6 separate regions of the Homo sapiens genome follow, and all the other regions are linked to region 4. Evidence: promoter capture Hi-C in 16 types of primary human blood cells and fetal thymus (Javierre and others, 2016). All regions are on one chromosome and are shown on one strand. Each heading gives the region's core, a stretch centred on a gene start or on the middle of the fragment in contact. The rest is flanking DNA. Distances are from core to core; before and after follow the strand shown.

Region 1 (4,444 bases), core at 74-2,573, 760 kb after region 4:
TGCCCGGCCCTGAGGTCTTAAATTTAAATCTTTAATTCATCTTGAGTGAACTTTTGTATATAAAGAAAGGAAGGTGTCCAGTTTCATTCTTCTGCATAGGGCTAGCTAGTTGTCCCAACACCATTTATTAAATAGGGAGTCTTTTTTCCATTGCTTATTTTTGTTGACTTTGTCAAAGATCAGATGTTTCTAGGTGTACAGCTTTATTTGAGTTCTCTATTCTGTTTCATTGGTCTATGTGTCTGTTTTCATACCAGTACTTTGCTTTTTTGTTTATTATAAAGTACTTCACATATATTAATCCACGTAATCCTCACAATACTTTGTGCTAGTCACTATTATTTCCATTTTGTAGGTGAAAAAAACTGAGGCACAGAGAGGTTAAGTGACTTGCCCAAGGTTACTCACTTATAACTGTTAGAGCCTATACTCAAACCCAGACACATTGGCTCCAGAGTATACCCTAAAACAAATGGACCTCACTAATGTGATGAACCCTTAATAGCCCTTAAAACTTGGATAGCAATGTTTCATTGAAACTTAAGCTCAACCAGTTAATTTTAAGAGAAAAGAAAACATAGTTCAATTGGAATGAGCATTTTCTAAAGTGATAAAGTTGATGGAAAGCCATAAATTTAAATCACCTCTAATCCAACTGGTATTTTATTTGTGCTTCTGTCTGTAAGGACCTGTGTCCTGCTTCTACAGGAGAACCCACTATTCTGCTAGGAGCTGCGAAGCAGCTCCTTAGAGAACCTCAACATCCTGTTTCTCAGATGACTTCACAGTAAACATCATTGGTTGGTTTTGACTCTGAGTTTTTGTTTCCAATAAGCTTTCTTTATCATCTCATGGGAATGGAAGGTGAAGGGAAAAGAAGAACCAGAGTAAACTAACCACACACACAACACGTACACACACATATATGCACATATACAGACACACATGTGCATGCATACACAGACACACAAACACACATACACACATGCATACATGTACACACACATGCATACCTTATTTAGATGTTTATACTAACAAGGAGAGAGTTGAAGGAAAAAGTATCAAGTCTACTTATCCTTACATAAAGCCAAGAGAGACAAAGAGGCTTGCTTGGTATCTCACGGGATGGCAGAAAAAGCCAAGACTGAAAACTCCTGTCCCCATGTTCTGCAAAGAACTCCTGTCCCCAAGTGCTTCATAGAGAACGTGGTGAATCACACATTCCAGGCCTCATCCTTTGAGATTCCAATTCAGCAGTTTGGGTGGGGCCCATGCAGTTGCATTTCTGATGAGCTCCCAGATGATGCAGCTGCTGCTGGTCCACACACACCTCAATAAATAACCACTGCCCTATTCTGTCCCATTTCTCCCATCAAGGCCCACTAATTTTTTCTGGAGTGGGCTCTTTTGCCCAGCCTGGCCCAGTGGGCACAAGTGTCTGTGTTGGTTCCATTGATTGGGAAGTTCAGCTCATGGTCCTTGGTCATCCATGACCAGAACCTATTTTTAAACAGAATCCAGGAAAGGGGGCCAAATAGGCCTTCTGTTTTCACTCTTCTGCCCCACCTCCTGTCCCACCTAGCTTGAGGGTGGGGGGGGTTCTGTTTTCTAGGAGTACAAAGGAAACTGTTCTTAATTAGAACAGAACTGGAAGGACTGCCCTAATCTGGAGCAGTTTGGTTTGGTTTTCTAGTCACCTGTTTCTCAGGTCACAGGTGCCCCTGGCCTTTGCTGATACTACATTGTCTTCCTCCTCAGGACTCCCAAGGGAACTGAGACCTGTCCTCTCTCTTTCCCAGAGACAAGCTTACCACTCACCTCAGGGCTTGCCTGATCCCTCTGTCATCTTCCTGGAGCTGGGGCTTGGGGCAACCAGAGCCATGAGACTAAAACTAGATCTGTGGGCAGGGGAGGGGGGTGGGCAGAAACATCGGGAACACAGGATGGGCAAGAGTCTGGAGGCCAGTGGTGTACACTCTCACTGCAGGGAGCACCTGGATGCTGGCTGGTTTCACGCTGCACTTTGGGGCTATGGAGGACAAATTTCCTGAAAATACTTAGCTGGGTCAAGTCAAAATCATAAGTCTTCTGCAGCCCAGATTCCCCTCTTTGAGAATATGTGCCCTCCCCATCAAAGGGAGCCAGGGCTCTCGTTTTAGCCTCATTAAGGGAAGTCTCTGATAAAACTCAGATATTGGACATTGGGAACTTCATGATCTTTTCCAGTCTTATTTATAAAGAAGATCATAGGGTACCTTCATTCGCTATTGGTACAAATGGAAATTGTTCTGTTCTCTCTGAAAGAAAACACGACGCAGCATGTGAAAGACCTTTAAGTGGGTAATTCTGCTTCTAGGAGTTTGCTCTAAGGAAATAATTGGACAAGGACTGAAAGATGAATGTACAAGGATACTCATTCCAACATTATTAATAGCAAAAAAAGTAAACATCCTAAATGCGTGAATAAAAATTGGAGTTTGGTTAAATGAACCATAGGAAATACAATCACTGAAATATTATGTGACTAATAAAAATGATGTTAGACACAAGAAAATGTTCGTAATGACAATGCCACATTATAAAATGTAGTCTATAAGACAGTACATATAAAATGATATTTTTGTAAAACCGTATGTGACTGTGTGTGTGTTCTCTGGAATGAAAAGAACACTAAAAGGGCATACAACAACACGTTAAAAGCTGTTATCTTTACATGATGAGTACACAGGAAATTTCTGAATTTTTTTCCTCCTATGCTTCTTTTATGTATTATTCAAGCATCCAAGTTTCCCACCTGGAGCATACAATGGAATAAGAAAAAAAATTATAGAATAAATAAAATCACTATGAATTGTACAATTTTAGGTGTCCTGAATGAGCCATGATAAATATTTTGGGGTACAACTTTCCTATTGTTTCTGTAATCTATTTCCATATAATAAACTTAGAAGGATAATTGTAAATACAAAGATTAATCTTTTAAAATCTTGCATGCACATGTGCAGACAGGCCAGTGTACTAGTCTAAGAAAACACATCTTCAGTACATAATATACATATTCATTGGTCTCTTCACTCCTTCCATCCCCCACTCAAGCAACAAAGATTTTTTTTTCCCCACAATGTCTCCTAGCAGCCAAACACAGGCACTGCTAATGAATATTAATTGACCTAACATCTTGTGGTGATGAAACTGCACATTTCGCTGTCTCATTTGGTTGCTAGGGAACCATGTGAGACAGCCACGGGGCTCTGGGACCCAGACCTTTTAAGTACAGGGCAGGGTTAAGCTACAAATCAAAGTACTCCACCCAATGAATTGGGTATACAAGGAACTATATGTATGTATGTGATCCTGTCAGATAAACAAGAAACAAAAACATGGCAATAGGCAGTTTGGCAGTGGGCAGGCAAGCTGGTGGAGATGGGCATAGAGTCTCAGTTACTGCAGCCCCTCCCCATGGATCTCCTGCAGTCCCCTCTCTCCAGGGACCCACTGGCACCATTGTTTCTTCCTTGCCATCCTTCAAGGTCTACAGTAGAACCGCGCAGTTGGGGCTGGAGGCAGCACGGGGGAAGGGGAAGGAGAGAATGTGGTAGTTGGATGTAATTGCCCTGAAATTGTAGGCATCATTTTCTGTCATCCCAGTGCTCATATTAGATGCAAATAAGCTGATGAGTGAACCTGGCCTACCTGCAATTTTCCTTCTGCACTTGACTTTGATCTTCTTTTCTCCTCCCTTTCCCTTCTCTTCTGTCACTCAGCAAGCAGAGAACTCATGCTCATCAGTGCTGGTCTCTGGTCTGGCCACCTTGAACCCTTGCACTAAACAAAGAGCAAATTTTCCCACCTGGGCTTCTGGAAGAAAACCCTCATGGAAACTCCTCATTCCCTATGCCTCCTGCTTCTCTTTCCTCCCCAGTCTTCTCCCTTTAAGCCCTTACTTTACACCACTTTTCCTAACCATTTCCCCCTTTCCAACTGTCTAAGCACCTTCCCTATAAAATGAAGACGTCTCTGTCCTTTGGCCCCACAGGCATACCAAAGACTTTCTCTTTCTGTTTGGCAGGCCCCCTAAAGGTGAGGGTTGAGCTCTGGTCTCAGCATCTGCAGGCTTGACTGAGAAATGGGAGGGTGAGTTCTAGTTCCTGGAAGTGAAAGGCAGTGAGGCTGGGGTGGTGGGTGCTCTCATCTGGCTTCATCTGGTTTCCCTTCAAGTACCTGAGCAAACACAACCGTGAGGATTAACTTCATGCCAAAGACTGCCTGTCCATATTTTTAGAAATTATATTTTTATTTCCACATATTCAGTCATTCATTTAACGAATATTAATTGAGCACTTACTCCTAGCCCAGAACTTCTGCTAGGCCCTATGTGGATTCAGTAACGACTCCAAACAGACACAGCCCCCAGTATGACAACATGGGGAGAGACACAGAGATG
Region 2 (4,719 bases), core at 1,911-4,410, 990 kb after region 4:
ACCAGCCCAGGCGCCCGCAAGAGGGACCACGCCCGCCCGGAGCCGCCCGCGTCCCCGCCCCCCGGCACGCACCGTGTCTGCCAGAGGGCCGCTGCTGCCACCTCCCGGCCGCGTCTCCCCGAACCGCGCTCAGCCGCCACGCCCCAGAAACCCTCCCGGAGGACGCTCGGGTCCGAGTCCACTGGGCCTGGGAGGTGGTGACTGTCCTGGCAGGGGCTTCCTACGGCAAGAATCATCTTCCTTTCGGGTCACTCACGCAGCGCACCCAGACTGGAGGTGGAGATGAGCGCTTCCAGCACCGACCTCCCCCAGGGTTCCAACGGACACGTGCTCCACGCCCCTTCCCAGTCTTGGGGATCCGAAAAAGCCACACAGCCTGGCCCCAGGCACAACGTATAACAACTAGGACCCCCAAATCTGGGCAGGCCGGCTCCACTTGGGCCATCCTGGCTGCCTGAAAGAATGCGAGTTGGAGCAGAGATCTTTGAACTCAGATTCAAATGTCAGACCCACTGAATTAGAATCCCCTGGGCAGAGGCCAGGGAACTATTTTTGCAAAGTTCCCCCAGGTGATCCTAATGGTCAGGCAGGTTGGGGACCCTCCCAGTTACAAAATCTAGACGACGTTTTCAGGTTATCCACAAATGCACAGAAACACACACCCCTGGGTCTATGAAAAGGCAACAATATGAAGTTGTGCGCTTGAAATGAGAAAGATTTCATGACAGCTCATCACCTAGCCCGGGAGTTTCTAACCTTGTCTGTTTATCATGCCCTTAATGTCTCAATGCTTTTTTTCACAGTAACCCTAGGCCTAAAGAAATACCTGACTGTTCTGTGTATTAAGTAGCTAGACCCAAGTAAGAAGTATTTCTGTCCTAACAACTAGTAGCCACTAGAAAAAATATTGCATATAAACTAGAAAAAAAAACTTATCTCATTCTTAGCCACAACTTCTCACTAACGGGATGTGTGTGCTTGTTGAGCACTGCGCAACTTCTCAGACCTTGGAATTGGATTAGACGCTGCCGCCCTCATTTCCTATTCTATATTGATTTTCCCATGGTACGTGTTTTATGTCACAGCAAATGACAAAAACTGAAAATGTAGCTTCAGAAAAATATGGTTTTATCAAAAAACATGTAGGGCAGGCTAGGCGTGGTGGCTCACACCTGTAATCCCAGCACTTTGAAAGGCCAAGGCAGGTGAATCACTTGAGGTCAGGAGTTCGAGACCAGCTCAACCAACATGGTAGTAGTAGAGAAACCCCATCTCTACTAAAAATACAAAAATTAGCTGGGCGTGGTGGCATGTGCCTGTATTCTCAGCTACTCAGGAGGCTGAGGCAGGAGAATCTCTTAAACCTGGGAGGCGGAGGTTGCAGTGAGCCAAGATCACACCACTGCACTCCAGCCTGGGCAACAGAGTGAGACACCATCTCAAGGAAAAAAAAAAAAAACTGTAGGGCAATCTAATATTGAGTCTTCAAGCTATCCTGCACTACTTAGTAGTTTGCATGGAGCCCAACAAAAGTTGAGTGTTGCCTTTGGCCTTTAAAATATCTCAAAGAGCCCCTCTGAATCCACAGCAGCTCCAAGAACACCTCAGCACAGAGTTTGGGAACATGCATGGAACTCACTCCTGCTCCTCTCCTCATCCCACACTCCCCAGGGTTCACAGTGCTCCTCCTGCAAGCATCTTCTTTCTTGCCAAATGCTTTCCCACCTCAGCACTTTGTGCCCTTGCTCTTCTCTCTGCCTGGAATGCTCTTCCTCAGGTCTCCGCAGGCCCAGCTCCTTCTTGGCCTCCAGGTCTTGGTTCAAAGACCACTGTGCTCCCTAAAGCCTCTTCAGGCCTCCCACCAAATCACTTCTATCCTATGGGCCTGTTTCCTTTTCTGTATAGCTTTTATCACTATCTGAAGTTATCCTGCTTAGTTTACTTACTTATTTTCAAGCTTCCCCACCAGAATGTGAACTTGATGAGAACAGAGACTTTTGTTCATTACTGTTTCCGCAGAACCCGCAACAATGGTTAGCAATAAGTAGACAATAAACAATTGTTCAATGAATGACTGCAGCCTCTACACTCAGCTCAGGGAGATAAAAGGTAAGAAGAATGTGCTTTACACGTGCTATCCCCTTGGATCTTCACAACACTCTTTGGAAATAGATACAAATAGACATGATTAACCCCATTTAATAGATGAGAAACTCACATTGAAAGAAGTTAAGTGTTCAAAGCTGCACAGCTGAAGTGGCAGAGCTAAGATTCAAGTTCATGTCTACTTGACTGCAAAGGCTGCTTTTCATAAAATCACATTAACATCATGTTGGATACCTTCGATACACACAATACATTTTTTTTTAAGACGGAGTTTCACCCTTGTCACCCAGGCTGAAGTGCAGTGGCACAACCTCGGCTCACTGCAACCTCCACCTCCTGGGTTCAAGCGATTCTCCTGCCTCAGCCTCCCAAGTGGCTGGGACTACAGGCATGAGCCACTACATTGGCTAATTTTTGTATTTTTAGTAGATACAGGGTTTCATCATGCTGGCCAGGCTAGTCTCAAACTCCTGACCTCAGGTAATCCACTGGCCTTGGCCTCCCAAAGTGCTGGGATTACAGGCATGAGCTACCGCACCCGGCCAACATTTATTTTTTTTAAAAAAAATGTTAACCACATTGCCTCCCATTATCCCATTATCCACCTAGAAAAGCTAATAATAACAATGGCAAAGTCAAGAAATGTAGCCAAGGGGCCAACAGAGCCCCAGAGTCCTTAGAGAAACTGGCCACATCGGCATTTCCCCACTCGAGGACTCAGCCCCTGCCTCCAGTAGAAAATAGCAGAGGTGCCCACCTGGGAAGGCCTTGCCTTTATTATTCCTCTGGCCATAGCTGGCCATACCAAGGAGACCTCTTGCAGACATATCTTCTGGCCTGGCCCATGTTACTCTGTAAACCTAATGACATGTGTAACTCTCGTTGCTGATTACAACTGCCGAGCTCCTGTTGATCATCATGACAGGTAAGAGGCAAACACACATGCAGCTGCAATCAAGGACATGATGAGCACCTACCCTGAGCTCTGGATGGCACTGGGTGCTCAGGTTGCCCACATTTTAGACAGTCGCTGATTGGAGCAAGAATTATTAGGCCACACTCATCTGCATCCCCCAGGAAATGCTGGGTTGCCTTGACCCCCTGGGAGGAGTTATGAAGGGTCCCCACAGGCTAGAGCTTGGGTGGCTGGACACTGAGTTGGAGACCCTCGTACAAAGAAAGGGAGATTAAAATTTGTTCTGTAGAGTCAAGGGACTTGTGCTTGTCAACTTCCCCTCTTCATATGGCTTTGTTTCCCCATGTTGCTTTTAAACAGGTGGTTCAGGCAGGAGAAGAAATCAGCTCTTCCCTCCTCACCCCTATACTCCCCTTGGCCTGGCCCAGCTATAACTTCTGCTTATTCAAGACTCAGTAGTGTTGGTGCTGCCTCCAGGAAGCCTGTCCTGGCCCCTGAGACCTCTCCTCTGTGCTCAGAATAACCCCCATACATCACTGGATCCTGGTACTCGCCCTGCTGCATTATAATTATCTAAGTGTGGGTCTGTCTCCCATCCGGGCTGTGAGCTGAACTGAGGTAGGAACTGTGACCCATTTACTGTCATGTCTCCAGCTAACACCATGCCTGGCACAGAGTAAGTGGAATAAATATCTGGGCTAATGGAGTTGCTGGATTACCAGACTACGTGTTCTGACAGGTAGCTGGGAAGATAGGATCATCATAGTTCTAGTCTCTGTGCTGCCGACATTCACAAGCTCTTGGAAGACCTTAGGAATCATCTAGCCCTGTGCACAGGTTCCCACATCCTGAGGTCCCTGCACCAGGAAGGGTGGTCTGCCAGAACTACAAAGGCCGAGGGAACAACTTCTCAGGAAAGCCTTGGCCACAGGCTACTCTCATTTCTGAAGGCTCTGAGCCTATCTCACTGACCATTTAGAACAAATTGTTCATGACTCAACTTCATTATCTTCTACCCCGTATAGGAGCCCCAGCCTCCTCGGCTCTGCATTAGGTCATTGTTATCGCTCCCTTGTGGGCTTGCCATGTCACCTCCACAAGCAGCAGCAAAAATCACTTGCCAGAAAAAATGTCAGAAAAGCAATTAACATGAGCCTGGGTAGCAAGAAAGAAGCAACACATAAGAACAAAGGAGATGGCTCCTCCCTGCAAAGTCTGTGATTGCCTACCAGGGAAGCCAGCTCTGGGAGACCTGGGGATTGGGCTTGAGCCATCAGCCTCTGCCCCTGGTGCTTTATTTCAGAAGCACCAGCATCCCTTTAATCATGCGCAGGAAGCTTGACTGCTGTGGGAGCCCAAAGGGACCACCTGAAGCCTGTGATGAGACGGGCTGCAGCGCAGGAGAAAGACAGAGTCTCTCCCACTGCCTACTGAGGAATGCAGCTGCTCTGCAGCTGAACTTGGAGAGGCAAGAAAGAGAACAGACATTTAGGAAATGAGAGGTGACCCAGTGTCTGAACACTGAAGGTCATGGGGAGATACAAGAGACAGAGAACAGGCTGAGCATGGTGGCTCACGCCTGTAATCCCAGCACTTTGGGAGGTGGGCAGATCACGAGGTCAAGAGATTGAGACCATCCTGGCCAACACAGTGAAACCCCGTCTCTACTAAATATACAAAAATTAGCTAGGCGTGGT
Region 3 (4,138 bases), core at 1,464-3,963, 960 kb after region 4:
TGGATACCACTGACAGCTGCTGACCCTCCTGCAGGAGGCTGGAAGCCCATGAGCCCTCCAAATGGCAGGTTCTGCTGTTCCCTCCTCTTACACAGTGACAGGCAGGCTGTCACCTGGAGCCTTGCCTGGCTTTGTTCCCTTCCACAGAGACTCACCACAGCAAGCCTTGTGTGCCACTGCCACTCACAGCCACTCTGTTCAAACCACATCAAGTAGTTGGAAAAGTGATACAAAGCGGATGGTAGAGGAAGAAGCAATTGCCTACCAGGAGTGATCGGAGCATGAAAAGCCCTGTTTCCTCCAAAATATTCTCACCTGCCAGCTGTAAATGCCTAAAATATTAGAGTAAGAGTTTATTCCTTCGGCTGAAAGCAGGTGGCACGTGGGAGGTGCGTGGCGCTTGCCCCTGCCTCCTCCTCTATGTTCATGGCAGGCATCGCTTCACAATCTGGGAATCTTTCCTGCAGCTTTGCACCCCCTTACAGCCACTGCCCTACTAAGCTTCCCATTTATTCCCGTTAAATATTCCTTCCTGTATTTGTGGGAAATCATTTAAAATAATCCAGAAAAAAAAGTATAGGGGGAGATAAGTGAAGAATGGAAGCAAAAATGATAGACTCTTGATAAATGTTGAAGCCGGTGGGTATGTATGGGTTCATTATACTTTTCTCTCTACTTTTGTGTATATTTAAAAGTCCTATAATAAAAATCTAAATTAAAGTATATATACAGGCCAGGCATGGTGGCTCATGCCTGTAATCCCAGCACTTTAGGAGGCCCAAGCAGGAGGATCACTTGAGCCTAGAAGTTCAAGACCAGCCTGGGTAACATGGCAAAACCCCATCTCTACCAAAAAACAAAAACAAAACAAAATTTAAAAATTAGCCAGGCATGGTGGTGCATACCTGCAGTCCCAGCGACTCAGGAGGCTGAAGGGGGAGGATGGCTTGAGCCCAGGAGGCAGAAGTTACAGTAAGCCAAGATTGCAACACTGTACTCCAGCCTGGGTGACAGAGAGAAATGCTGCTAAAAACATATATACATATATATACATACACACACACACACATATAGTATATGTGTGTATATGCCAGTTTCTCTTCTTACCTGATATCACTTAGATATCAACTTGAATTGTAATGTGAATGAGTTTTTGCATCTTTTTTGAGAGCAAATTTTGATAGTAAAAGAACAGAATAGCTGAATTCTCAGTGAGGCAGGAGGAGGCCACCAGTTGGGAGGAAAACAAAGTCAAACATAACTGGGAGGCAACGGTTCCCAAAAATCTGGAAGGGTATTTACTTTACAAACTGTTAAGCCAGTGCTATTCAAGAACAATCAAACTGGATTAGGGAAGTTTGGTGGAGAAACTAAATGGCCATTTGCTCTCGGCATTGTTGGTTTCTGAAGTGTTAATTTTTGCTGTTGTCCACCTCTGCTTTTCACATCAAGCAGCTTGAGTGTTAGAGGCCAAGGTTTTGATTTGAGACATGAACTTTGAAAGTTTGTGGACCAGCCCCTGTTGTTTCAATGAACCCAGTTTTCAAGTTATTGACTCTATACTCTTCTCTGATCTCAAGGACACCAATGAATCTGTTTCTAGCCTCCAGTAGATTTAGAAGAATTCATTTCTCGCTCATAATTTACTGAATTATTTTCATTCAAGATTCTTAGATGAAGCCACCCTTCAAAATATTGTGACATGGGAGAAGTTGCCCAAGACCTGCTGTTTCCATTATGTCCCCCTCTAAACACTGGCTGTTCCCCCATTCAAAAGTCAATCAATAAAAATGTAATTCTACTATGGGAGCCTTAAAGCATTCAGCAATAGGAGTCTGGTTAAACAAACTGAAGTTATACACACAATGCAATATCTATGCAACCATCAAAGAGATGAATTTGATCTATAGGGGCTGAGATGAAAAGATCTCCAAGATATTTAGTATGGAGCAAAAGTCCAGTTGCCCTGGTGGACCTGAAGGGACAAGATCACCCCCTGCATAGAGAGGAAGTGTTGACCGCTAGCTAGTCACTAGAACTGAAGGTTCACCAAGCCTGCCCCTGAGCAGAAAGACAGATCGAAATGGTTGAGCACAGAATTTGTGGGCACTGGGTGAGAAGGAGGTTCTCTTAGAGTCTCTTGCTTCATTCAGAACAGCTTCAACTGATTCCTCTAACAGTCCAGGTGACTAAGTCAGGGTGGTCTCATTACAGTGATGACTGTTCCCTCTGAGTCTTTAGGTAAGAACCCCAGTTGTGATACTAGACCTCTCATTCCTTTTTCCTGCAATAACCCAGCTTCAATTCAGCTTCAGATAAATTTGAGTAAATTTCATCAGAACCGAATCTTCCTTTCAGATCCACTATCTCCAGTAGACCCACACTGCCAAGATGCACATTTTCATGAAAGCCCTAACAAGAAAGACTATTATTCTCAAGGTTGAACCCATGGATACAATAAAAAATGTGAAAGCTAAGATTCCTCCAATCAACAGGGATTGATTTTGCTGGCAAGCAACTGGAAGATGGATGCACAAATGTCTGAATATAAAATTCAAAAAAAGGCCTCTTTTGCTGTTGAGACATCATGGTGCTAAGAAGTCATCTTATAACACTCCAAAGAAGAATAAGTGTAAGAGAAAGAAGGTGAGGTTATTTGCTCTGAAATACAATAAGGTTAACGGAGATTGGCAAAATGGGTCGCCTTCTCCAAGGGTGTCCTTCCGATGGCGTCTTCATGGGCCACCTTAACCCACATTACTATGCAAGTGCTGTCTAATCCTTGCTGCAACAAACCAGAAGATAAGAACGTGTGTGTGTGTGTGTGTGTGTGTGTGTGTGTGAATACAAGACTAGAACTACTTTAACTATTGGATTTTATGCCAACATTTGAAATACAAAGATTTAGATTTTATTCTTGAAAAGGCAAAATTATGGTGATGGAGAACAGATTAGTGGTTTCCAGGGGTTACAGGTGGGGCAGGAGCATAAGGGAGTTTTTTTGGGAGTCATGAAACAGCTCTGTATCCTGATTGTGTTGGTGTGGTTCCACAAAGGTATATATGTGTTAAAACTTATAGAACTAGACATCAAACAAATTCAAGTTTACAGAATAATTTTAATTAAATTTTAAAAGGTCTTTCTGAGTAGTCAAAAAATAAACAGACCCATAGTTCTGTTTATATGAAACTAACAAGGAACGTACAGCAACTTCTTCCAGGCACTGCCAGCATCTAGATATCAGTATTCACACACTGAGGCCACTGTGTCACTTAGAGATGGCTACAAGGATGAGCTCCCAGATGACAGGGGACCAAGCCACTGGTGGAAGGACAGTGGGACAGTAACCAGCCACAAAAACCATTCCATCTTCTTACAAAGGGACATTCTCTGTGCACAGTAATTCACAGAAGACCCCCAAAGTGTGCAAAATAAAGACACCGGCAAAAGAGAAAAAGAAAATACTCAGTTTGTTCGACCTGACTAGTTAACCAGAAGAATTACCACCTCACACACACAAAAAAGTCATGCACAATGTAAGCATAATAGTCTGTTCTCTATAGATATCTGCCCAGAGTCTTCCAGTGGCTCACAGAAACCTAGAACCAACTATGGAGCTGGGAAGAAAATTGGCACACAGGGAGGAGAGTCTCATATGAGATTAAATTTCCGACTAGCACAGTATGATGGGAATATGGAGTGAAAATTAGGTTTACTTATGGGCAAGGACAGAATTGGAGATTTCTTACCCATCTGAGTTTGGGGACTGAGATTGGTGCCCCCTATCCCAACCAAACTCATGCACCGTCACTCTTGATAACCATGCAGTAACCCTCTCCTCCCCACTTCCTGGCTCCAGGAGTGACTGGGATGTGTTTTGTGCCCCCACACCACTTCCCCTTAGGCCACCAGGATTTCTGCTGCAGCTGCAAGAGTCAGTCCCCATGAATGGTGCAGGGGCCACCTCCAGCATCCTGCTGGTCTATTTGTTTCCCTCAGGGCTTTTTATCCGAAATTCCAGGATCTTAGCATGCAGGGCAGTCTGACGGCAACCCCAGAAGGCAACCTCAATGAATGGGTTAGAAATCAGAGAATAAATGCACCCACCTCCCCTCCAGAGTGAAGTGTCCAAGGAGAC
Region 4 (4,180 bases), core at 531-3,030:
TTTCAGGGAACGGAGTGTCCTAGTTTGGCTGTGGGTTTAACCTTTTTGTCTCATTTTCTTACAAGTGAGTGTGCAACAAAGGGACCCTTTCTATAAACCTACAAAAAGGAGATTCCCATGTTTTATCTGTTTAGTTTTTTTTAAAGGCAAAAGACACTAGAGAAATGAGATGTGTGTGTGTGCATGTGTGTTTGTGTGTGTGCGTGCGTGTGTGTGTCTGTGGTGTTGGAAATGCTCTGGTGAAGCTGCTGTGTCACTTTTTATTTTGATCTTTGCTCGGTTCTCTTCACCCATCATGCTTTGCTCTCGTTCTCCTTTGTCTGTGTGGCGTCATTGGGGACCGTCTTGACTTCGGCTGGCGCTGGCTTCGTTTCTGTCTCCTGGCACTCTGGCTTTGCTTCTACGGGGCCCTTCCTGCAGAGAATCAGGAAAACAGAACCACTGAGACCACGGTCTGCAGACATCTCGCCCCTGCATCCAGGCCTTGGGGACAGCAGGGAGGAGGAGGGGTTCTCCAGTGACAGCACCCGGCTCCAACCTCTGCCCGTCAAATCACCTGGGAGCACTAAAAATCACCCAAGCCCGAGCTGTGTTCGCGGAAATCCTGATTTAATTGGTCCGGACACAGTGACTTTTAAAAGCACCCAAGTGACTCTAATGTGCAGCCATAGTTGAGAAGCACTGAGTCAGAAGAACGAGTCCTTTCCTCTTCCAGCCCTAAGTTGATGCCAGAGGCTGTGTTTTTACCTGGGGTGGTGGAAGGGGGCAGCAGAGGCAGCTCCTCCTCACCCTGACCAGCTGCAGTGGCAACAGCTCAGCTGGATGTAAATGCAGCCTGCTGGGCTGGGCTGGGCTCCCAGCACTGATTTCAGGGGCCCCTTTGCAACCCACTCTTGCCTGTCCCTTCCCCACCCCACCCTGTGCTGTTGCAGGATGATGCCTCTAGGGCCTGCCTGGGTAGGGTGAGAAAACACTGATGGAGGCAGCTTTTCATGGCAGCCTGGTGGGGTACTAGAGTGGGCCTGGTGGCTATGCGAGAGTTGAGGGCAGCTGAGTGGGCAGGGCTATCAGAGTCCTTTTCCCTCCCGATGCTGAGATTCAGGGCTCCTGGCGAGAGCCCCTTGCAGCCCATGGTGGCAGCATGGCAGCTTATCTGGGGAGCAGCCATAGGAGCCTCTATAAAAATCTAGGTCTGACTCTGCCTCCATCAGTTCCAGGAAAGGGAGTCGGGTCTGAGGATGCATGGGGACAGGCACAGACCCCAGCCTCAGCTGGTGCCACTGAATTTTGGCAAGACACTTACAAACCTGAAAGGTTAAGGCCTTTCTCTTGAACTTTGAGACCCAGCAGCCATTTGATGCTGGGGAGCCCCGAGTCTTCCCAGCCACTCTAAGAGCAGGAGAAGCAAGAGTGGGCTGGGGGCCGGGGTTGGGAGGGGAGGGTGAGCATCTGAGCCACAGTGTGAGGGGACCTCTGAACTGCACCCTCCCCTGCCACGGGCCTGGGGCCTACCTCTTTTCTTCCTGCACATCAGTGCCTTTCTGGTAGGGACTCAGCCTGGCACTGAATAACACACCGACTGGGGGCCCCAGGGTGGCTGATAAGGGCACCTTGGCCTTCTTAGCCTGCTTCCCAAGCTATTCTCATCAGTGGCCTGACTGCAAGGGCTCCCCCAGGGAAAACAGAAGCCGCTGCTAGGATGATAAGGATAAAACATAATTAACATGGCCTAATTAGCCAGCAGGCGGCTGCTCCTGGGGCCCAGCTGCCTGTCCTGCTCTCTCTGCCTTATCCCAGCCCCTTGGTTGACGGTCGCCTCAGAGAAGCCCTGGATGAGGCTGAAGACACATCTAACAAGGAGGACACAGCACAGCACAAATGCACACCACCACAGGACACAACCCGATGACAGCAGACAAAGAGAGGCCGTACTCGGTCTTTGCTGGCGCAGGCGAAACAGAGCTGTCTGCAGTGGAAGGAGCAAGCTCAGGGGCTTGTCCACTGGCCCCAGCGGCGGGAGCAGGAGAGCCCAGGGCTGCAAAAACATCCTTTGCAAGGTCAATATCTGGGGTCTTGAAGTTCCCTTCGTCCATTTTAAAGTCCTCGCCCTGGGAAGGGTTTGTGGTGCTGACGGAGGCAGCCTCGCTCTTCGGGCTAGCAAGGGCTGTGGCTGCCTCGGCCGGGCTCTTCGCGGCTCCGGGCTGGGTGGGCTCCGGGTCCGGGCCTTTGGTGCTGGGAGCCTCCTGCTTGGCCTGAGGGGCTTCTGTGGCAGGGGCAGCCGCTGCTGCTAGAGGACTGGCTGCCCCAGTCGGGGTGGGGACTGGTGCAGGGGTGGGCTTGCTGGCCGGAGGAGCCTTAGAGGCCTCCCCGACACCAGCAGGGGCGCTTGGGCTGAGGACAGCCCCTTGGTTAGCCAGGACACTAGAAGACAAATTGCTAGCGGCAGGGGTTGAGGTCGGGGTGTCGCTCAGGTCAACGAGGGGGGCGACCTTGGGGGCTGAAGCTGGGGCCGGGGAGGGGGCAGAGGCGCTGGGCCCCTTGGAAGGGGTGGCCTGGCCAGCCGGTACAGAGTTTGAGTCAGGCGTGGCCGTGGCCGGCGGGGCAATACTGGAGGTCAGGGTGGTGGTCTCACTGGTGGGGCTGTTCTGAGCAGTGGCAAAGGTTTCGGTGATAGTGTCAGAGTTAGTGGTGACGGTGGTGACAGAAGGCAGCATGTCCTCGACAGTGGCCGTAGTGTCGGCAGGCAGCCTGTGGGAGGACAGGAAGTAGAAGAGAATAGACAATGAAGCTGAGACGTGACAGAGAAGCGAGGAGGAGGGCTGAAGCCCAGGACAGGGACCATGGGGGTGGGGGCATGCAGTTAGGCACAGGCACGGACACAGGCCCACAGAGAGAGAAGGATGCTGAGAGGAAGCACACGCCCAGGTGGGCAGAAGAGGACACAGGAGACGACAGAGAACGTGGCGGTCTCAAAAGGGACCTGCTAGCCCTTCCCTGCTGATGTCTCTCCAGCTCTCTGCATAGAGCTCCCTTTCCCTGAAGTCCTTGCAGACCTGCCTAGGGCTTCCTGATCCCTGCCCTGGATCTCCATTCAAGGAGGGGCAGGCTTCTGTTCAGCATCCACCTGCTCTAGGCTTCCCAGGTCCCAGAGGAACTGGGCCCAGCTGTCCTGCAGGGCTCCCCAGGGCACCGATGGGAAAAGTCACGAATAAGGCAGATCACGAGTACTCAGAATGGCTCATAGGAGCTGTGGGTTCTTCCAGTCACAGATTTTGTGGTTCCCTGAAACTCCATTCCCTTTAAGCCCATAAGATCCTTGACAGCTAGGCAGGCATTACAACCACAACTGGTCTGGGGCTCCGTGGGTCCCCGAGGTTTCTGAACAGAGGAGGGGCAGAGAACTTTACCAGGTCCCCAGCTTCCCTTATCCTTTCAGGGGGAAAACACAAAACCCTAGAATTTCAAGAAATCCTAAGCAGACTCTGCTAAGCCTTTCAGTGAGATTTTGCCACCTTAAGCCATTTCCAGAATATGTGTATAACTTGAGAACAGGGGCTAGGGATCCAGGGATCCCTACTTATACAGGAGCCTTCTAAGGGTACCCACAGCCACCGAAATAGAACCAGAAATGCCTGAGGTCAGGCATTTCTCAGCCAAGCAGGTCTTGTGGCCAAGGGTTTGGAATCCTGGCCTGAACTGTTTGGCCGGGAGCTGTGGGTAGGGGCACGGGAGGTGGGGGTAGGGTGGGGAGGTGGGTGTGGGGGTCTCTACGGAGCAGGTGCCAGCCCCTCCCAGCCCACGTACTCGGGCTCCGTCAGTGGCGTGGTCTCGTTGGGCTCTGTGTGTTTCCCTCCATCATGGTTTGGGGTCCTCTCCTCCTCCGTTCGAACCTCCACGATGGGCTCCTTGGACTCATCTTTCCTGTGGAGACAGTACTGCTGGTTAGACCCTAGGGCAGCTGCAGGGAGGGGCTCCCACGGAAGAGCAGCTATGACTCAACCCAAGGCTGGCACGGTGGGCATCCAGAGCCAACAGATTCAAATGTATAAGTCTCAGCCCAACCCTTGCTAGCTGTGTGACCTTGAGCTTCAGATTTAATCACCCTGCCTCAGTCCCTTCATCTGTAAAATGAGGCAAAAACACTGTTACTTTGCCTAGTTATGAGAATTCAATGAAAGGA
Region 5 (4,250 bases), core at 1,546-4,045, 680 kb after region 4:
CAGGGATCAAATAAGAGGTATGTGTATTATACGGGGTTTTCTAGAGAAACGGGACCAATAGTATGTGTTTGTTATAAGGAATTGGCTCACATGATTATGAAGGCTGGCAAGTCCTGAGATCTGTGGAGTGAGTGGGCAAGCCGGAGACCCAAGAGAGCCAATGGTTTAGTTCCATTCCAAAGTCCAGTAGGTCTGAGACCCTGGAAAGCTGATGGTATAGTTTGTGTCTGAGGGCCAGTAGGCTTCAGACCCAAGAAAGTCAATGTTTCAGCTCAAGTCCAAAAGCAGAAAAAAAGCCAATTTCTCAGTTCAAAGGCCTTCTATTCAGGCTTCAGTCTATTGAATGAGGTTCATCCACATTAGAAAGGAAAATCTGCTTTATTCAGTCTACTGATTTAAATGTCAATCTCATCCAAAAACTCCCTCACAGAAAAACCCAGAATAATGTTTGACCAAATTTCTGGGCACCACATGGCCCAGTCAAGTTGACACATAACATTAACCATCACAGAAAGTAAAACATCAATTAGCCATCTCTAGTAAACAATGAGGCTCTAAAACCACTGTTCTTTTTAATTAACTGTACCAATAATTAAAGGGCAACAATGGTAAAACTTCAAATGAACCACATGTGAAAAGACTCATTCCACTCCCTCTCCTTTGGGAGAGAGGAAGATTCAAAAGAAGTTATAAACAAATGAAAATCTAATTTTATGCATATCCCAACCTAGTGGTATATAAGGGCTTCTCAACCCAAAGGAAGAGCCCTCGTAGCTGCGACATGAAGAAATGCCATCTACTAACATGAGAACAAGATTGCTTATAACTGGAGCAATTTTAGGACAGTTTAACCCATTATAAGCAATCCTGGAAGGCCATAGCAAAGTCAGACACAACTTGAGTGCAACCTTTCTATGTGACTGATCATAGAACATGTGCATCAGTAAGGACAAAACAACTGCTGTTCTTGGCAAAGGCCAAGACCAGAACCTCTGGGAAAATCAGGCATGAATTAATAATGACCTTTCTGCATGGCCCCAGAAAGGAGATGCCACTAATTAGAAGCAAATATAATACCATAAATGGAGGCAAAACAGAATTGAACACATTGGACAATATTATAACCAAAAGTAGTGGTCAGGATTTATGAGGATGGTAAATTGAAATGTAAGTTAGATTGGGATGCGTGTCCAGATGTAAGAGGCTCTATGATGTCTCACATCTTAAGTTTAAAGGACTTCTAGGTGCTGTTCAGTCATGAGTCCCATGTCTAGGGGATGAAAGTATCTTCTACAGGAAACAACCACCTCCTTCTCCTGTTAAGCCACTAGCCCAGAGCTCTTCTCAGTTCCCCCTAGGGCAGCTCTGTGAGGGCCTTGTACATAATGTTTCTACTGAGCAGCATGCTTCAGTGATGATGATGATGATTATGATCGCTGTTATAGTTGCTTTTCTTGTTATTAATAGCTGTAACTTAATATTTCAAAATCTGCTCAGAGCTTAGGGCATGAGATACAGCCAGTCTCCCAAGGAGGCAGCCTGGGGAAGTGAAAAGGTTTGGAAGCAGATGGGCCTCTCTACCACCTACTAGCTGCAGGACTGTAATGTGAGTTTGCTGCATTATTTTTGGATAGCCAATTCTGTTATAGAATCAAGAAAGCAAACTGGGTGGATGAAACTTAAAAGGACATACAAGCATCAGGTAATTTTGGATTCATTGTGGAAGCCAGCCGCCAAGATGACCCCAGTGGTCCTAGCTCCTTGACCCCGGTATATTCCTTTCCCAGGGTGGGCAGGGATGTTCTGCATAACCAATAGGATACTGCAGAAATGATGGTGTGAGACTTTGGAGGCCAGATCATAAAGACACTGCTCTCCCTTAGACTACTTGCCCTTGGGGAAGAGAGCTGCCATGCCATGAGGATACTCAAGTAGCCCTGCAGAGCAGTTCATGTGGTGCTACCGCCATCACCAGCTCCAACTTGCCAGCCACATCCAAGACATCTTGGAAGCAAATCCCCCAGTTCCAGTTAAGATGACAGCAGCCCTGGGTGACATTGTGACTGCAACCTCATGAGAGCCAGAACGACCCAGCCAAGCTGCTCCCAAATTCCTGACCCACAGACACTATGATAGATGGAAAATGTGAATTGTTATTTTAAGCTGCTAAGTGTTGGAGTATTTTACTATATAGCAATGGATAACTAAAGCTAGCATAGATAGAAGGCAAACAAGCAGCTTACGAGGTATAGGCAAAACCCATAGGATGTGTGAAGTGTAGATGATGAGTGAGTAAGCAGCTTGTGAGACAGGCAGAATTCATAAGATATGCTAATTATAGCTACTGAGTTAGTAACCTGTAAGACATCCTAAAGATATATACTGTAAATGGGACATATAATAAAACAAATCAGAGTGTTATCTACTAACTATAGATAGAAAGTCATAGAGATAACAAGTCATAATCATGCCATCTCTGGGCTAAAAGCTTTATCAACTCTAAATTAGGTACCCATTGATTGACACCCACAGGGTCTCATTTTGGCCCCAGGTGCTCTGTATAAGAAATGCAAATAAGGCCGGGTGCTGTGGCTCACACCTGTAATCCCAACATTTTGGGAGGCCGAGCTGTTGGATCACCTGAGGTCAGGAGTTTGAGACCAGCCTGGCCAACATGGCAAAACCCCATCTCTACTAAAAATACAAAAAATTAGCCAGTCATGGTGACGGGCACCTGTAATCCCAGCTACTTGGGAGGCTGAGGCAGGAGAATTGCTTGAACCCTGGAGGCAGAGTTTGCAGTGAGCCAAGATTGCACTGCAGCCTGGGCGACAGAGAGAGACTCTGTTTCAAAAAAGAAAGAAAGAAATGCAAATACATTCTCGACTGTTCGGAAGGCTAATTGGCAAGCTGTAGCTATAGCTAAGCAAACTTGTTTTAGCCCCCATATTCCTCCTGTCAGACAGCAAAATTATGCTTTGGCCCAAGAGATCTTTGGTGTGTATTTGGCCTTCTTGCTCAAATCTCAATTGTGATCCTCATAACCACACCATCAGCAGGGAAGGCTGATGCAGCAGAGAGAGGGAAGATACACAAGCTTATATACCCCAGGATCCAAGGAGTATGGTGCTTCCACCTGGCAGCTCCCATCTGAAGTGAGCTAACCTACCCTATCCCTCTCCCCTTGCTGTTGCTTTGGGTTTTCAACAGATTTAGTAAACTGTGAGTTTAAGCACTTTAATTTGGCCCGTGAATCCTCCTATTCTGACACCTCTGACAGAACTTATCTAGTAGAGTATGCAGAGGCCACATTGCATTAAGGTAATTTCTCACATTCCTGGAACCTTGGAAAAGCCACTTCACTACTCTGATTCTCAACCTTCCCATTTAAAAACAGGAGCTAATACTACATGCTTGACAGTGCTTTAAGAATAAATGAGACACTTGGGAGAAGAAATAATGGAGTGCCAGGCACAAGACAGGTGCTTACCAAAAAATTATTCCTTCTGTTTTAGGTGACCCTGTAACTGTCTCTAACCTCAGCCAGGTCATCCACTGAAAGAGTATTGTAATACCTACCTCACAGTTGCTCTGAGGATTAAATAAGGTAACATTTCTGAAAGTATCTAGCACAGGACCTTGGTAGATGGCCAATCCATTTAAATTTTCTGTCTTTCTTTCCTTACAAATAAAAAAAAAGTATAACAGCTGCCTCTGAGATATAATTTCAAAATTGTGGAAATCCCTCCATCCCCATCCCCAAGTCAGGTCACAACCCTCATCTACTCCCCTGCCTCCCATTCCTTTGAAGGGTTAGGGCTTTTGTTCCTTAATGGAGAATTACAACTCATCCTGGAGGAAGAAACCAAATGACTTAAATTCACCCTAAGACACAAATGACTAACAATAGATCCTTGCTCAGAGGGAAAGACTTTATTGGGAAAGGGAGGAGGGAGTAAGAAGACAGGGTTCAGAGGAAGGGCAGTCAGAAGTGAGAGTAGAGAAAGGCCTTCAAAAGGGAGGCCTGGATACAAAGTCATAACAAAGACACGCTTAGCCCTGTGGGTCTGACAGGACAGGACAGGCCAAGAGAGCCCCTCCTTCAGAGAGTCCTTCTCAAAGACAGCCTCCCTCAGCGAGAACATCCTTCAGAGAGCTGCTCCCAAGGACAGCTCCTCACTTAGAGAGCCCCCCTCAGGGAGCACCTCCCTCAGACAGCCCCTCCCTCAGACAGTCCTCCTCAAAGAGAG
Region 6 (4,084 bases), core at 533-3,032, 650 kb after region 4:
GCCAAGGTAATTTCACCAGAGGTCCTACGGCAACTCTCACCAGTTCCCCTGCATGTAGATCAGAAGAGACGACTGCTCTCCACTGCTCGCTGTGCACATCTCCAGCAGCTCCCAGTGCCCCCCAAGGGTGTAGCCTCCCTGAACCCCCAGCGTGCAGAGAGAGGCAGGGCAGGGCTTGCAGATCAAGGGGATCCACTGTCCATGCTGCGAAGAGGAAGATCAAAAACGCAACAGTTCTAGGATCCCAGGCAGCAGTCTGTTATAGAACAGTCGAAAAAAATTTTTGTTTGATTATAGAGACAGAAAAGACCACCTGCTCTGAAGATGTGCAGTTTTCTTGTTAAAACTCCTCCCTGAGTCCCAAGGAGTAATTGCAGGTCCGATTCCTGCTGTCTGGGATGCTGCTCCACAGGGCCCAGTTTGGGGACTGAATCAGAGGATCCTTCTGATGGTTCCATCAGCCCAGGGGTGGCTGAGTCAACCTCTGACCTGGAACTTCTGAATTCTGACAATTCACTGTCCATCTTCCAGCAGTATCCCTGGGGGAAGAGACATTAGCTCAGGCATGAATAGTCACTCTCGGTTCATTTCCAGGCCTCCATGGTTTTATAAATGATGAAAAAGAACCTGTGTAAGAAGTGATACAGTTCTAAGAAAAGACAAGGTAAGAAAATAAGCTTAAGTTGGCTATGAAAATTGTGGTTTAGATTAGTGTCACCTCCTTGCCACTGACAAAGATTGCTAAGTTGATACTGGTGGCTCTTGCCCCTGGGAGTGATTTGCCCAGAGGAAGAAGACACCTTTATACACACGCTGGAAAACTATGCTGTTCTTGTACCTAAAGAATACAGCTGCTACCTCTACAGGTGCTCAGGCTGGGAAGCACCTTTGATCTAGGGCCTCCAGACAAGCCCTAGGAGCTGCTGTTGAAGATGGGGTCCAAGCAGACAACAGCAAGAGTAGAGACATCCAGGAAGCTGGGGGACTTCCCTGGAGGCTGATGCCAGCAGGACAAACTCTCCTGTCAGCTCCTCTTTACATGTTCAGCTTGACTTACAAGGAGAAAGAGGTCCAGTCCCTCTGAGTTTCAGTACTTCTTTTGTCCTCACATCCACTTTCTATAGGAGGGGTTCAAAATGTCAGTCTTCTTCTCTGCTTCCTGGTTCCCCACCCTCACTTCCACATCCTCATCTAAAATCTTCACTTGGACGACTTTGGTGGCTCAATGTCCTGATCATTCATAGTGGTTATTAAGCTAGTAAATTGGCAGAGGCTGGCCTTACAAAACAAAAACCCAGGACATCCAGAATTGTCCACTGGGGAGTTAGGAGGTGTTCATTAAATCTTGACATCTTTTCTGCTTTTAATGCCCCACTCCACCCCTAGGCTCACTCACAAACACAGCAAGTTTTAGCTCAGTGGGGTTGGAAATATCTTGGGTTCAGTGAAATTGCTGTGAAGTCGAGGGGTCATAGGAAAGTAGCAAGGTCCCCTTGTACTTGGAGTAAAATCCATTACTCCAGAGTGTCCTCCTAGATGAACTAGCCCCTGCTCACCTCATGACCTCACTCTTTGTGATATGGACACATTTACCGTCTTCCAGTTCCCCAAACAGGCTGATCCCTTACTCCCCTCAGGGACTTTTCTTACTGGTCGTGTCCCGTGGATGTCTGTCTTTGCATGGCCTGTGTATTAGTTTGCTAGAGCTGCCTTAATGAATTACCACAAACTGGGGGCTTAAACAAAAGAAATTTATCGTCTGAATTTGGGAGGCTGGACGTCCAAGATCAAGGTGCTGGCAGGGTTGGTTCTTTCTGAGAGCTGAAGGAGAATCTGCTTCAGGCCTCTCCCCTAGCTGCTGGGTGTTTGCTGGCCATGTTTGGTGTTCCTTGGCATATAGAAGCATCACCCCAATCTTTGCCTTCATCTTGACATCTTTGCCTGTGTTATCCCTGTGTGCACATGGGTGGCTGTGTCCAAATTTCCCTGTTTTATAAAGACACCCATCATATTGAATTAGGGGCCCACTCTACTCCAGTATGACTCCATCTTAATTAATTACAGCTGCAATGACTCTATTTTCAAATAAGGTCACACTCTGAGATCATGGAAGTTAGGGCTTCAAGATACGAATTTTGCGTGAATATAATTCAACCTATAACTGCTGGCTCCTTTTTATCCCTCAAATTATAGCAGAAACATCACATTCCCAGGTAAGCTCCTCTAACTATCCTATCCAAACCATCCACCACAAAACCCTGTTTGTCAAGCCAATCACAATTGTCAAGTTTTGATGGTTGACCCATTTGTTCCACTGTTTCCCTTGTCCACTAGACTGGAAGCTCAATTTCCAACGCATAAAGGGGGCCTGTTTGTCTTGTTTCTGCTGGACTCCCTTCCCACCCTGAAGGCACATTGAGTGATATCTGTATCCAGCACTGTGCAGTGCCCAGCCATACTGGAGCCTGAGACAAATGGAGAAATTAGTACCAATCCAGTCTTGATTGAAATTTTGAATATTTTGTGCATCAAGGATTTTTTGCATTGATTTTTTATTTTCTAAATGTTGTATTAAAATATCATTTACCTTGATTACCGAGGTGTTTGGTGCCCCCTTTTGTGCCAGAGGCAAGTGCCTCATTCGTCTAAGCTAGTCCAGGTCCTGTCTGTATCATTGGAAATGAAGAAGAAAGGAAGCAGGTTACTCAATCAGTAGGAACAGAGTGATTCTCCTCACTGTGAAAGGCAGCAGAATGACAGAGCATCCTCTTCAATGGAATTGGGTGGAAATGGACTTGAGGGAAACTGAGGCAAGCATAGGGTCTTGGAAACCTAAGTACAGCACTTCATTCCCTTAAATTTCCTGTTCCTCATGGGAACAAGCTTTGGTTTGATTTTGTTCTGAGAGCTGCACTTCCCCTCTCCCAACCCTGGCCTCAGAGCTAATCCAGGGCCCAGGACAAACATCACTTCATTTCTGCCCCAGCCTCAGCTCCCGAGAGCCACAGAGGTACCATGGTTCCTGGTGTTGTGAGGTCTCTGTTCCCTAACTATGAGGTGCTGATACACCCAGGGTGGGGCCAGGGCTTCTGAAACTCACATATCACTGAGCAGCAGTGATTCTACCAAGAATGTCTAAGGACTGTTCTGCTTCCGGGTCAGAGGGAAACCTGACACCCCAGCCTAGGGCTCTAGCTCCTCATCTAGTAACCCCATACCACCATTTTCTCCACAGAACTTCTCACATTCACCCAGCTTCCCTTTCGTGCCTTTCCTGCTCCACCTTCTTTTCTACCTTACTCTCCTCCTGTCCCTCCCCTGCAGCCAGAATGAGACATGGCACTTAAGGGACAGGTTTATTCTTCCTGTTCCCCACAAGAGTCATTTCAGAGTCAAACATCTCTCTATAACCCTGTTTCTGGGTGATAAATTACCTAGACAGACAAGAAAGTGGAATACTCTCTCCCCGGTGCTGAGCGGGGCTTCTATGCCAGTGGTGCTGGGCCGTGGGGAAGAGGATGTGTCTCTGCTGAGTCATGGTTGGAAACCAGTTCTGCAGTTTCCCAGTCACTTAGAGTCTCAGAGATGTCCACATCGCAGCCTGGGAAACTGGTTCTAGCCCAAGGTGAGCACTGAAGTAGCTCAGCAATGTGGGTGCACACTGCCTGAGGTGCAGCAGCTCTTCTAGGAGTATAGGACCTGCTTGGTCTCCTTTCCCAGAAGCACCAGTTTCTTGAGCACTCAAGGCCTGCAGCTGCACCCAGTGGGGTCTGATCCTGAGCCACTCTGGCAAATGGGCCTTCTTTTTGGAGCAAGTTACTTCTCCCACCTGGAGGGAGCTGGGCATTTAAGCAATGTTGTCTTTGAAGCCCACACTGTGTGAGAGCTAAAAGGAGAGGCATCACAGTGCCCAAGATGACGTAGAGTCAGAGACTTTCTTTACCCTCCAAAATAGGGCTTTTTTTTTTTTTTTTTTTGAGATGGAGTCTTGCTCTGTCTCCCAGGCTGGAGTGCAGTGGCCTGATCTCGGCTCACGGCTCACTTCAACCTCCATCTTCTGGATTCAAGGGATCCTCCTACCTCA

Evidence for each region. Contacts are between HindIII fragments. The CHiCAGO score rates a contact against its expected background, and 5 or more counts as called.
Region 1: a fragment that was not itself captured here is called in contact with the fragment with the promoter of NCAM1-AS1 in region 4 in 1 of 17 cell types (endothelial precursors); the score reaches 5.6 in endothelial precursors.
Region 2: a contact is called between a fragment that was not itself captured here and the fragment with the promoter of NCAM1-AS1 in region 4, in 4 of 17 cell types (total CD4 T cells, endothelial precursors, naive B cells and 1 more). The highest score is 9.4, in total CD4 T cells.
Region 3: a contact is called between a fragment that was not itself captured here and the fragment with the promoter of NCAM1-AS1 in region 4, in 4 of 17 cell types (total B cells, monocytes, naive CD8 T cells and 1 more). The highest score is 12.1, in total B cells.
Region 5: a contact is called between a fragment that was not itself captured here and the fragment with the promoter of NCAM1-AS1 in region 4, in 5 of 17 cell types (M0 macrophages, M2 macrophages, endothelial precursors and 2 more). The highest score is 9.3, in M0 macrophages.
Region 6: a contact is called between a fragment that was not itself captured here and the fragment with the promoter of NCAM1-AS1 in region 4, in 1 of 17 cell types (M1 macrophages). The highest score is 5.2, in M1 macrophages.

Annotation. Positions count from the first base shown.
Region 1 is chr11:112,513,285-112,517,728 of GRCh38, reverse strand. All of the region lies in intron 2 of LINC02763 (long intergenic non-protein coding RNA 2763), which reads right to left. Among named protein-coding and RNA genes, the nearest start is that of LINC02763, 33 kb to the right of the region's middle. The HindIII fragment of the contact is 971 bases long and covers 838-1,808 here.
Region 2 is chr11:112,285,549-112,290,267 of GRCh38, reverse strand. The region is part of intron 1 of LINC02762 (long intergenic non-protein coding RNA 2762); the gene reads right to left. Among named protein-coding and RNA genes, the nearest start is that of LINC02762, 17 kb to the right of the region's middle. RefSeq lists an enhancer at 1-92 and a silencer at 1-198. The HindIII fragment of the contact is 2,402 bases long and covers 1,960-4,361 here.
Region 3 is chr11:112,311,516-112,315,653 of GRCh38, reverse strand. The region is part of intron 2 of LINC02762 (long intergenic non-protein coding RNA 2762); the gene reads right to left. Among named protein-coding and RNA genes, the nearest start is that of LINC02762, 43 kb to the right of the region's middle. The HindIII fragment of the contact is 4,420 bases long and covers 504-4,138 here.
Region 4 is chr11:113,271,501-113,275,680 of GRCh38, reverse strand. It overlaps NCAM1-AS1 (NCAM1 antisense RNA 1), which reads left to right and starts at 1,780. Exons shown (of 3, transcript NR_034101.1): 1 at 1,780-2,057. It overlaps NCAM1 (neural cell adhesion molecule 1), which reads right to left. Exons shown (of 20, transcript NM_181351.5): 19 at 3,805-3,921; 20 at 1-414. The coding sequence ends at 294. The HindIII fragment of the contact is 7,964 bases long and covers 1-4,180 here.
Region 5 is chr11:112,590,730-112,594,979 of GRCh38, reverse strand. No RefSeq gene overlaps it. Among named protein-coding and RNA genes, the nearest start is that of LINC02764, 37 kb to the right of the region's middle. The HindIII fragment of the contact is 609 bases long and covers 2,491-3,099 here.
Region 6 is chr11:112,620,269-112,624,352 of GRCh38, reverse strand. It overlaps LOC124902757 (a long non-coding RNA gene), which reads right to left and starts at 2,849. Exons shown (of 2, transcript XR_007062892.1): 1 at 2,588-2,849; 2 at 1-539. RefSeq lists an enhancer at 3,223-3,272. The HindIII fragment of the contact is 2,206 bases long and covers 680-2,885 here.